2 separate regions of the Homo sapiens genome follow, and region 1 is linked to region 2. Evidence: promoter capture Hi-C in 16 types of primary human blood cells and fetal thymus (Javierre and others, 2016). All regions are on one chromosome and are shown on one strand. The core of a region is centred on a gene start or on the middle of the fragment in contact, and the rest is flanking DNA. Distances in the headings are between cores, read along the strand shown.

What was found. The method cuts DNA at HindIII sites, captures the fragments that hold promoters and counts their contacts. A CHiCAGO score of 5 or more calls a contact.
Region 1: the fragment with the promoter of KIAA1191 here is called in contact with the fragment with the promoter of B4GALT7 in region 2 in 1 of 17 cell types (neutrophils); the score reaches 8.6 in neutrophils.

What each region holds. Positions count from the first base shown.
Region 1 is chr5:176,358,473-176,363,739 of GRCh38, reverse strand. It overlaps KIAA1191, which reads left to right and starts at 1,976. Exons shown (of 9, transcript NM_020444.5): 1 at 1,976-2,138; 2 at 3,822-3,929; 3 at 4,173-4,259. The coding sequence starts at 4,232. RefSeq lists an enhancer at 1,901-2,220. The HindIII fragment of the contact is 14,901 bases long and covers 1-3,851 here.
Region 2 is chr5:177,598,646-177,603,983 of GRCh38, reverse strand. B4GALT7 (beta-1,4-galactosyltransferase 7) reads right to left here and starts at 3,852. Exons shown (of 6, transcript NM_007255.3): 1 at 3,724-3,852. The coding sequence starts at 3,773. RefSeq lists a silencer at 3,500-4,039 and enhancers at 4,220-4,399, 4,600-4,699. The HindIII fragment of the contact is 3,518 bases long and covers 697-4,214 here.

The DNA.
Region 1 (5,267 bases), core at 727-3,226, 1.2 Mb after region 2:
CCACAAATATCAGGGATAAAGTTTTTTTTTTTTTTGAGATGGAGTCTCACTCTGTAGCCCAGGCTGGAGTGCAGTAGTGTGATCTCAGGCCTCCCAAAGTGCTGGGATTACAGGCATGAGCCACCACACCCAGCCAGAAATAAATTTTTCAAAAGAATCAATGCCGGAAGAAATAAGATGTAGCTAAAACATCACTATCTGGGAGGAGAGGAGCATATATATGTAGTCAAAGGGAAAGGGGGACAAATCAGAAGGAATAGGGGCTGGGACCCAGAGCCAGGGGTACAGAGGAATCGCGAACTAAAAGGAGGTGAAGAGTTGAGACAATATAAAGGGAAAGAGGTAGCCCTGCTGGGCCCTGAGAGCCACAGGCGGTCTCTCAACCCATGTACCCTACAGCCAGCCGTACATGGCGTCACCCCTCTGGAGAGCCAAAAGAACCCGACTGCTGTACTCAGGTCGTTTCTCCTGTTCTTCCTCCTCGTGCTACACACGTGGAAGCCTTGGCAGTCACTGGGGGTACCTAGGACAAGGCAGACTGCAGCCTCCGTCTCCCAGGTTCAAGAGATTCTCCTGCCTCAGTCTCCAGAATAGCTGGGATTACAGGCACCTGTCACTACGCCTGGCTGATTTTTGTATTTTAGTAGAGACGGGGTTTCGCCGTGTTGGCCAGGATGGTCTCGAACGCCTCAGCCTCTGAAAGTGTTGGGATTACAGGCCTGAACCACCGTGCCCAGCCAGAAAAAGTTGTTTTAATCAAATAGTAACTTCCAGGAAAGTCTTAAGTTTTCATGTATTTGTGGCTAAGAAATAAATGAGATGATCCCACCTTATGATCTACATAAGGGTGCAAAGTGCTATTTCTTCCTTTTCTGACTGAGAGGTGATATACATCCCTTCCTGTGGTGGATAAAGAGCAAGGTGCCAGCTTTGCTTCCACAGAGGTTAAAAAATATGGCATATTTTAAAAGCTCCAAATTAACAAAGGAACACCTTTAACACACACACGCACGCACACATATACACACAATTATACTGCAATGTAATTGTGCTGTTGATAAGCTAATTATAGAATTCATCAAAGACTTTAATTCTTAGTGCACTCAAGCACCCTGGTCTGGAAACAGCGCTTAAGTTTCAAGTCGCATGAGCAAGGCCTCTCAGTTCTGCCAGTACGGCTGGAAGCCTCAAATGCTGAAATCTAAATGTGACATTCACCCTGCACCACCAATCATAGCTCTCCTGAGATGAGTTTTGATGGCGAGCTTTGGACTGGGGTAGAAACGTGGATAGATTTTTGCAAATTCTGCTGTAACTTCGTTGCTTCGCCTTCTTTGTGAACCCTTCAGGGATAAGAGAAGTCTTCCTTCAGGATGTGACTGACACCTCAGCTGGCGCCTCTAAGCCTCACTCTCCTTTATGTAAAAGAGAAATGATATTAGGATCGCCTTCCCTAGGGGAGGCAGGTGAGGTCGGTTCCCTTTTTTGGTTCAGCTACTAGTACGAACCCTGCCTAACCCCGCTGTTTTGGGAGACAGTCCGTGCTCACTGCACCGCTTGCTAATCGAAGTGACTTCTCATCTCTCCCAGTCTCAGCTTCACCTCCGTGAAGTGGGAAAAACAGGATGACAAGTGCTCGCACTTGGCAGCCCTTTTTGAGCCTTGAGGGCTTGGGTTTGTGGGTGTCATTTTACTATGCTACCTCCGTCTTCCCTTAGCTTGTCACGGACCCAGGCACAGCACACGCGCTGAGGAAGTGGTGGTGAAGTGTGGCGTTTCCTCTCGGGGCTGGCGGATTCCACACTCGGAGCTGCGGCTCCACAACTCGCTGGGCGGCGAAGGGCATGGGGAGGGGGCGGGTCTCGCGATCGTGGACAACAACTCCCAGCATGCCCTGTGCTCCGCTGGGCCAAGTCTCGCGCGAGATCCCGCGGTCTCCGGAGGCTTTATCTGCAGTGCTGCCTGCCCGCTGGGTGGTACTGCTACCTAGTGGGTCTTGGGGACCTTCGAAATCGCCGCCGCTCTCACAATGGCTTGGGTCCAGACTGCGCCACAGCCTCTCGGGAGACGTGGGCCCTCGGAACCTTTTTAGTGCCGGACTCCGGGCCGCAGGCAGTCCCGCGGCAGCAGGATCACAGGTGAACAGATGGCGGGCCTGGGCCCTCCCTTGGGGCTGCGTTCTCTGGCGATCAGGAGGGGCGCTTCCGGCGAGGCCCGATCTCGGGGCCCCTCCAAGCCACTCCCCTCTCCCCGCACCTCTTAACCCTTCATCCCGGCTTCGAGCTCGGCTGGGTCGCCTCTTGCCTCCCTGGCTCCGCTCTCTGGGGTCTCCGTAATGGGGCTTCTCTCCGGGAATGCCCTGCAGCTCCCGTACGGGCTTCCCCTCCGCTTCGTGGGACCAGCCCAGCCCGAGCCCCCGCGGCTTGTCCTCAACCTCATCTCCCCACACCCCGCCTTCGGCTAGGGTCCTGGCCCTAATCTTAGCCTGGAGGGGTGGGTGAAGCAGCCGGCCTTTCGTATCCTGGCGGCACCGTCTTGTATATTGTGAAGGAGAGGCAGAGGGACGGTGAGCTGGGGGGTGGGGGCACAGGGAAAGGGAAAGGGGAAGGGGACGTGTCTGGGGCGGGAATGCTCCCTGGACTGGGAGGATGGCTGAATTCGGCCTTTGCGATGCTCGTTAGTGAAGAACTATCAATAACTTGTTTGCTCTGTCTGAGTCCTATCGGGATAGAGGGACGGTGTAGCAAGCTGAAAAACAAGAGTAACTTTCTCAGGCCCTCGTTTTAACTCCCCTGTAAACTGGGCATGAAACTACCTACCTTGCGCACGGACCACTTATCTGTGACCGTGGACAAATTTACTTAACTCCTCTGATTTTTAGTTTCCTTCTCTTTATTATTATTTTTAACATTTTTTTAATTTTTTTAATTTTTATTTTTGAGACCGAGTCTCACTCCGTCGCCCAGGCTGGAGTACAGTGGCTCGATCTCGGCTCACTGCAACCTCCGCCTCCCGGGTTCAAGCTATTCTCCTGCCTCAGCCTCCCGAGTAGCTGGGATTACAGGCGCCCGCCACCATGCCCGGCTAATTTTTGTATTTTTAGTAGAGATGGGGTTTCACCATGTTGGCCAGGCTAGTCTCGAACTCCTGACCTCAAGTGATCTGCCCGCCTGGGTCTCGCAAAATGCTGGGATTACAGGCGTGAGCCACCGCACCCGGCCAGTTTCCTTCTCTTTAAATTTGGGATAGCCTTTCTGTAAGAGATAGCTTAAAAAAAAAACTGGGGTCGGGCGCGGTGGCTCACGCTTGTAATCCTAGCACTTTGGGAGGCCGAGGTGGGCGGATCGCAAGGTCAGGAGATCAAGACCATCCTGGCTAGTGCGGTGAAACCCCATCTCTACTAAAAATACAAAAAATTAGCCAGGCGTGGTGGCAGACGCCTGTAGTCCCAGCTACTTGGGAGGCTAAGGCAGGAGAATGGCGTGAACCCGGGAGGTGGAGCTTGCAGTGAGCCAAGATCGCGCCACTGCACTCCAGCCTGGGCGACAGAGTGAGACTCCGTCTCAAAAAAAAAAAAAAAAAAAAATTGGGATTGGGATAAATAATATCTGCTTTGCCATCTTGCTGCAAGGATTAAAAGACAAGATAAACGCTGTAAATAGTTTATAGTGTTAGCTATAAAGAACAAATTTCCCTACTGTAGTATCTAGCCGCTTGCTGTGAGTTAAGAAAATGAAATGAGCAAGGTTGTTGTGGGGAATAAACAAGTGTTTGGCAGACTCTGACGGGCTGTTCCAATGCTGGCTGTTTGTTGTTATTAGAACCTCTGGATGGACTCTTCCTGGGAAGCTTTGCTACTTTGCAGCAGCTGGACCATGTTCCTCATTAACATCTGTCTGTCCGCTTAGTCATCACATCATTTCACTGTGGTAAGGTGACTTTTTCACCATGTATGGCATCTTAGCTCTGTCATCTCACAGGTGTTAAGATCAGCCACAGGTGTGGTGAGACGTTTGACTTTATCCTTCTTTTTTCATTGGCATGTTTGTCACCCACTGGCTCTTGCATGTGTGTTTCAACCTTGTAAACAAGCCGTTCAATTCTGTGTGCCTGCCAGAAGAACAGCATTGGTGCTGCTCACCATAAGAAAATGCCCTTTGTTATTTTATTAGGTGGCAGGGACTCAGCTCGGAATTCTGTATAGAAAAAGCACCTGGATCCCAGTCTTTCAATGGCTTCAAGACAACCAGAAGTGCCTGGTAAACTTAATTCTTTTTGGTAAAATCATGTTTTGCCCTTATTAATGTTTTAAGCTAGACAGAAACCATTTTATCGGAACTATATATTAATGGTTAATCTCTGCTACCAAGCGAGTATTTAGATTTACTAGATTGGCTTATTTTATTTTATTTTATTTTTTTGAGATGGAGTCTTGCTCTGTTGCCCAGGCTGGAGTGCAGCGGCACAATCTCGGCTCACTGCTACCTCCGCTTCCTGGGTTCAAGCCATTCTCCTGCCTCAGCCTCCCCAGTAGCTGGGATTACAGGTGCCCGCCACCACACCCAGCTAATTTTTGTATTTTTTGTAGAGACGGGGTTTCACCATATTGGCCAGGCTGGTCTGGAACTCCTGACCTTTTTTTTTTTTTTTTTTTTTGAGACAGAGTCTTGCTCTGTCGCCCAGGCTGGAGTGCAGTGGCGCGATCTCAGCTCACTGCAAGCTCCGCCTCCCGGGTTCACACCATTCTCCTGCCTCAGCCTCCCGAGTAGCTGGGACTACAGGCGCCCACCACCATGCCCAGCTAATTTTTTGTATTTTTAGTAGAGACGAGGTTTCACCGTGTTAGCCAGGATGGTCTCGATTTCTTGACCTTGTGATCCGCCCGCCTCGGCCTCCCAAGGTAATGGGATTACAGGCGTGAGCCACCGTGCCCGGCGGAACTCCTGACCTTGTGATCTGCCTGCCTCGGCCTCCCAAAGTGTTGGGATTACAGGTGTGAGCCACCACGCCCAGCCAGTTTTATTTTATTTTTGAGTCTCACTCTGCTGCCCAGGCTAGAATACAGTGGTGTGATCTCAGCTCACTGCAACCTCCGCCTCCTGGGCTCAAGTGATTCTCCTGCCTCAGCCTCGAGTAGCTGGGATTACAGCTGCCTGCCACCACGCCCGGCTAATTTTTGTATTTTTAATAGAGACAGGGTTTCTCCATGTTGGCCAGGCTGGTCTCAAACTCCTGACCTCAGGTGATCCTTCCACCTTGGCCTCCCA
Region 2 (5,338 bases), core at 2,603-5,102:
CAACCCATGCCACCCGCTCTCGGGAAGCCCTCTGAACCACTCCCAGTTCACAGAGCTGCCCCGGCTCCTCAATGCTCTCTTACTTTCTGTGACTGAGTCCTGGTCAGAGCTGCTCAGGGCAAGGATGAGGAGGCTCCTGTCACTTGCAGGTGCTCCTCCCCACGATAGTGGCTCAATGTCCTGAGCCAATGACAGGAGTCCCCACCTTAGAGATGCAACCCACTGCTTTCCAAACCCGCTCCCCTACAGATCCACCCCAGCAGAAACCGTGGCTCCATCCTGCTTCCAAGAATGACCAGAAAGGCCACCCAGACACGGGTGTGTGCTGGCATTAGTCCAGGTAAAATGACCAATGTTTACTCTGGGAAGATCAGACGTGCCCCCCGAAGCAATGCAAGGCCCAAACTGTCAGTGGCGGTTCACTGAACGAGCCTCAAACCTTTAGTCCAAGAGGCAGCTCATGATAAAAGATGGGAGATGGAGAGGGAAAGAAAGATGAGGGCTGGGTACAGCACAGGCACTGATTTCAGAAACTGGAAAAACAGCTGAACATCACAGACACTGGGGTGATGCCAGGAGACAGCCTTTTGGTTAGCAAATACAAAGAAACAGAATTCACCAGATTCCTTTGCCGCTCCTCTGGAAGTTCCTGAGTATGCTGAGACAGGAGCTGAGGAATCCATGAAGGGAGAAGCTTCCTCTGTACTCCCCCTACCTTCTCCCCAAAGTAATCTGCAAAGGAATCCACTTCACAATCTTAAGAGTCAGCGATTAGCTATCAGGTCTTATAAATTCTATCTCCTGGCCAGGCGTGGTGGCTCACGCCTGTAATCCCAGCACTTTGGGAGGCCGAGGCAGGTGCATCACGAGGTCAGGAGCTCAAGACCAGCCTGGCAAATATGGTAACACCCCATCTCTACTAAAAATACAAAAATTAGCTGGGTGTGGTGGTACGCGCCTATAGTCCCAGCTACTTGGGAGGCTGAGGCAGAAGCATAGCTTGAATCTGGGAGGCGGAGGTTGCAGTGAGCTGAGATCACGCCACTGCACTCCAGCCTGGGCAACAGAGCGAGACTCCATCTCATAAATAAATAAATAAATAAATAAATTCTATCTCCTAAGTCCCCCTCTGATCCTTCCTCACTCATCTGTTCCTTGCCCTGCTCAGACCCCTTCAGTCTTCTGAATGACCCTCCTCTGTTTGCCAGACAAAGGCCAAGCCCTTTGGCCTGACAGTCAAAGCCCTCCATGACCTGGCCCCAACTCCAGGTGCTCCCAAGCCTTCGCCCCATGTTCTCATGTTGGGCACCTCGGAGCTTCTCCACTTGCTATATTCCTTCCTGCTCCAGCCCTCACACAGCCTGCTCCTTCTGCCTGAAATGTCCTTCTTTATCTGCCTGAGGACCCCTGTTGATCCTTCAGAGCCGAACTCCAATGTCATGGCCAGCACTGCCCCCTGCCCCCATAATGCTCCCACTTTTGTATTCCCACGGCATCTTCCCACTTTTTTGTAATGCCTTGTGTCCTTGCTTCTCAGGCCGTGTCAGATTCTTATCTGTGGCCCCAGCACAGCAAGCACAGGCCAGACAGCAGAGAGCTTGCCAAGTGAGTTACAGAAAGGGGTAAGGCAGTCAGGGCATGCCTTAAGTCACATGCTAAAGCCAGACCAACTCCTCCCTTTTTCTAGAGAGACCGCCAACCTGGAAGCCAGTAGCCTTGCAGCCAGGCCCAGGTTCCACACGCAGCTGAGAGGTGGCCTGGTAGGAAACCCCCCAGGGCTTCTGACTTACCCCCCATTATCCTGTGGTGGTGGATTCAGCTGGGGAGGAGCACAGCCCAGTCCTGAGAGTGGTCTGGGAAGGCTGGAACCTCTACAGATTCTCCCTTGCCCTCTGGGCTTTTTCTGGGGACAGGGTAGAGACTGGAGAGATGGATATGGGGTGATATCCCACCTTCATGAAAAGAAGCAGTGACTATTATCCAGGGGAACGGCGTGGACTGGGTACTCCGAGCACGTCCACACGCTAATTCCCTCGGCCCTGCTCCCCTCTCCTATGAGGACCACATCCCCATGGGCATCATCCTGTGCTCTAAGAGCACAAACCGCAGAGCAACTGGATTGAACCCAGAGTCCCAATTCCTCAGGACAGTGGACACCGAGAACAATTGTTCCTGGTGCCACCAGGTGGCAAACCAGATTTGCAGTCCCAGTGGCTCCCAGGCCCAGGCCACCCTGGCTCTGAGGGGCAGTCCAGAAGAGGCTTTGTCTCCCTCATCAATCACTGCCCAAGACTAGTAAAAGGCGGATTCAAACCCAGGCAGGCTGGCTCCAGAGCCTACACTAGATAGCTACACTAGCCTGCATCAGTTGCGTGGATCTTTGCACCAACCCTGTGTCAAAAGCACAGAATTGACATCAGTAAATTTCTCTGGAAACAGCTATGGAAAAGGATCAGGAAATAGAAATGCTCCTCTGTTACCTTTCCTTTCTTGTCTCATACAGACCTTCGTACTACGAGGTTTGAATCCTCAGCTGCTCTGGTTACAGGACCTCAAAACTGCAAAGGTAACGGGAAGACAACTGGCACCTCCTGTTGTGCTAGGCAGTGCCATGCTCTTTACATGTGTGCGGTCCTTTAATCCTCACACAGCCCTGCAGAGCCAATACTGTCATAACTGGCTCAGTGACGGAAAGGCTGCGGTCGGACAGATGCAGGGGTCTCTGCTCACATAATTACGGAGGACTCCTGCCCAGGTCGAACGCTAGTCCACGCTTTCTATTATATTCCTGTTTTCCCCTTTCAACACCAAGTCTGAAAAATCCCCAAAAGTACAAGTTGTGGCCACTAAATTCCAGAATCTTATGGCACCTGACGGACTTAAGAAACATGAAGGAAATGAGGTGTCATTCACGAGGAGGAGATCCAGTCATGTGTTCTGTGAGAAGACTTACAGGGACACATCTCAAGTGCCCCACGAATGGAGGCAGTCAAATCGCTTTCCCCATTCTGCTTTAGTGAGAAACAAAATTAGCTAAGGTGTGGGCCAAGCTCGCATCTTTCACGTAGGGCCAATACAGCTGCACAGGAAATGGACTAATGCGTGTATAAGGAGTGTCTAGTACGTGCCAGGCAGTGACCAGCCAGGCAGAGCACGGAGCTTCTGTCTGGTGGGTTCTGCTGGTGGCCTGCGAAGGATGGGGGGAAGTGTTAAGGAGGAAGGGTAGGGTCTGAGGCTATATGGATGTGATGAGGAAGGCAGAGACCAGAGAAACGGAATACACGTCCTCAGGGATCAGAGACAAATTGAGAAACACAAATCCATGGTGAGAGGTCAGCGGAGTCAGAGACCCGCATGCAGATAGAGGGAGGCTGGTGGAGAAACACAGACACAACGAAACACATAACGAGAGAGACTAGCAAAGAGGGGATCAGAAACTCACAAAGGGAAGTCAATGGAGAAATACGGACCCACGGGCCGGGGGGAAGGTGCTGGGGGAAGGACGAGTGCCGCGGAAAGGGAGAGGGGGCGGGGGAGGCAGAGACCCACAGGGACAGACAGAAACCGGAACAGAGCGCCAGGGACCCACAGGGAGAACCACACGCCCTCACAGAAACCCGCAGACATGGAGACGTGATGGCCTCGGGTTCCCAGATTCCGCCGGCGGCCGAGAAGGGAGCGGCGCCCGGGAGGACGGGGCCCGGGCCCACCGCCGCCGCTCACCTGCCGTCCTCCCAGGGCAGCTGCGCCGCTTTCCTCCGCGAGGGGAACATCGTGCGGAGAGGCGGCGGCGCATGGGGCAGGCGCTCGCAGCCCGGCCGGCCCGGCCTCCCGGGCCTACGCGGCGCCTCCGCCTCCCGCTCCGCCCAGGCCTGTCCGCCCCGCCCCCCGGTCCGCCGGGTCCGCCGCTCCGGCCGCGCCGCCAGCTCCCGGAGCCGCCGCCTCCAAGGTTCTGCTTGCGAGCAGCGCGGGCGCGCCTCCCTCTCTGGGCGGCTCCTTCCTAGCCGCCCCGGGACCCGCCTGGAAGCCCGAGAAACTGAAGCCCAGAGGCCCAGGGCCTCCCAACAAATCACTGGGCTGGGACTGGACCTAAGAGTCCAGACTCCCAAACCAACGCTCGGGGAGAATCTGCATCTCCGTCCTCTTTCCGAGGGGAGGCGGGAGCGTCCCGGGGTCCCCGTCTCGGCCCAGGCGGCGCGTTCTCCGCGCAAGCTTGGAGGGGCAAAGCCAAGCTCACGGCTCGGCGCTGAGTTCAGCTGACAGCCCGCGCAGGCGTTAGGAGCCGAGCCCTGAAGACAAGTTGACTGAATTTGAAACCCGACTCTGCTTGCCGGGCGCGGTGGCTCACGCCTGTAATCCCAGCACTTTGGGAGGCCGAGGCGGGCGGATCACGAGGTCAGGAGAGCGAGACCATCCTGGCTAACACGGTGAAACCCCGTCTCTACTAAAAATACAAAAAATTAGCCGGGCGTGGTGGCGGGCGCCTGTTAGTCCCAGCTACTCGGGAGGCTGAGGCAGGAGCATGGTGTGAACCCAGGAGGCGGAGCTTGCAGTGAGTCGAGATCGCACCACTGCACTCCAGCCTGGGTGACAGGGCGAGACTCCGTCAAAAAAAAAAGAAAAGAAAAAGAAAAAGAAACTAGACTCTGCCAATTCAGCTGTGTTTTGACCAAGCCACATCTCTGCATCTGTTTCCTCACCTGGGTATATCAATGGCTCCTATTCTATATGGTAGCTGTGGGGATTCAAGGAGAAAGTGCAAACACTTGTGCAGCGCTAGGCACACAGTTCAACGCCATATAAATGACAGCTGTCATCCAGGAAAAGGGTACTTTGGTGGAGCTGAGAACTGAAGAAGGGAATAGGAGACTGAGTTCCCATATCTGCCCCGTCACCGTGGGAACTTAACCATCCCCCTCACCCCCAGCCCCCCCACCCCTCCTACTAGCCTCCTACCTGGGGAAAGAAAGCGGCAATTGTTAGACTTGACCTCCTCTGCTCTTCCAGGCAAACTTTTAAGTTTCCTAATAGATAGCAAACATCTATTAAGTTCTTATTATGTGCCAGTCATTGTTAATAGTTCTTACTACATGAGGGTTATCTCACGTAGTCCTTATCGGTAGGTGCTTATCCCCAAGTTAAAATTGAGAGAACTGAGGCACAGAGAGGCAAATCAGGTAGTTTGGTTGCAAATCTATGGGTTTGGGGTTTTTGTTTTGTTCTTCCCCACAATCTATGATCTTAATCACTCTGCTCCAGAGAGAACTTCACCGTGGGTGGGAAATGAATCATTCCCAGTAACCCCTTTACCCCGTAAACCTGGAAGTATATAATCCAC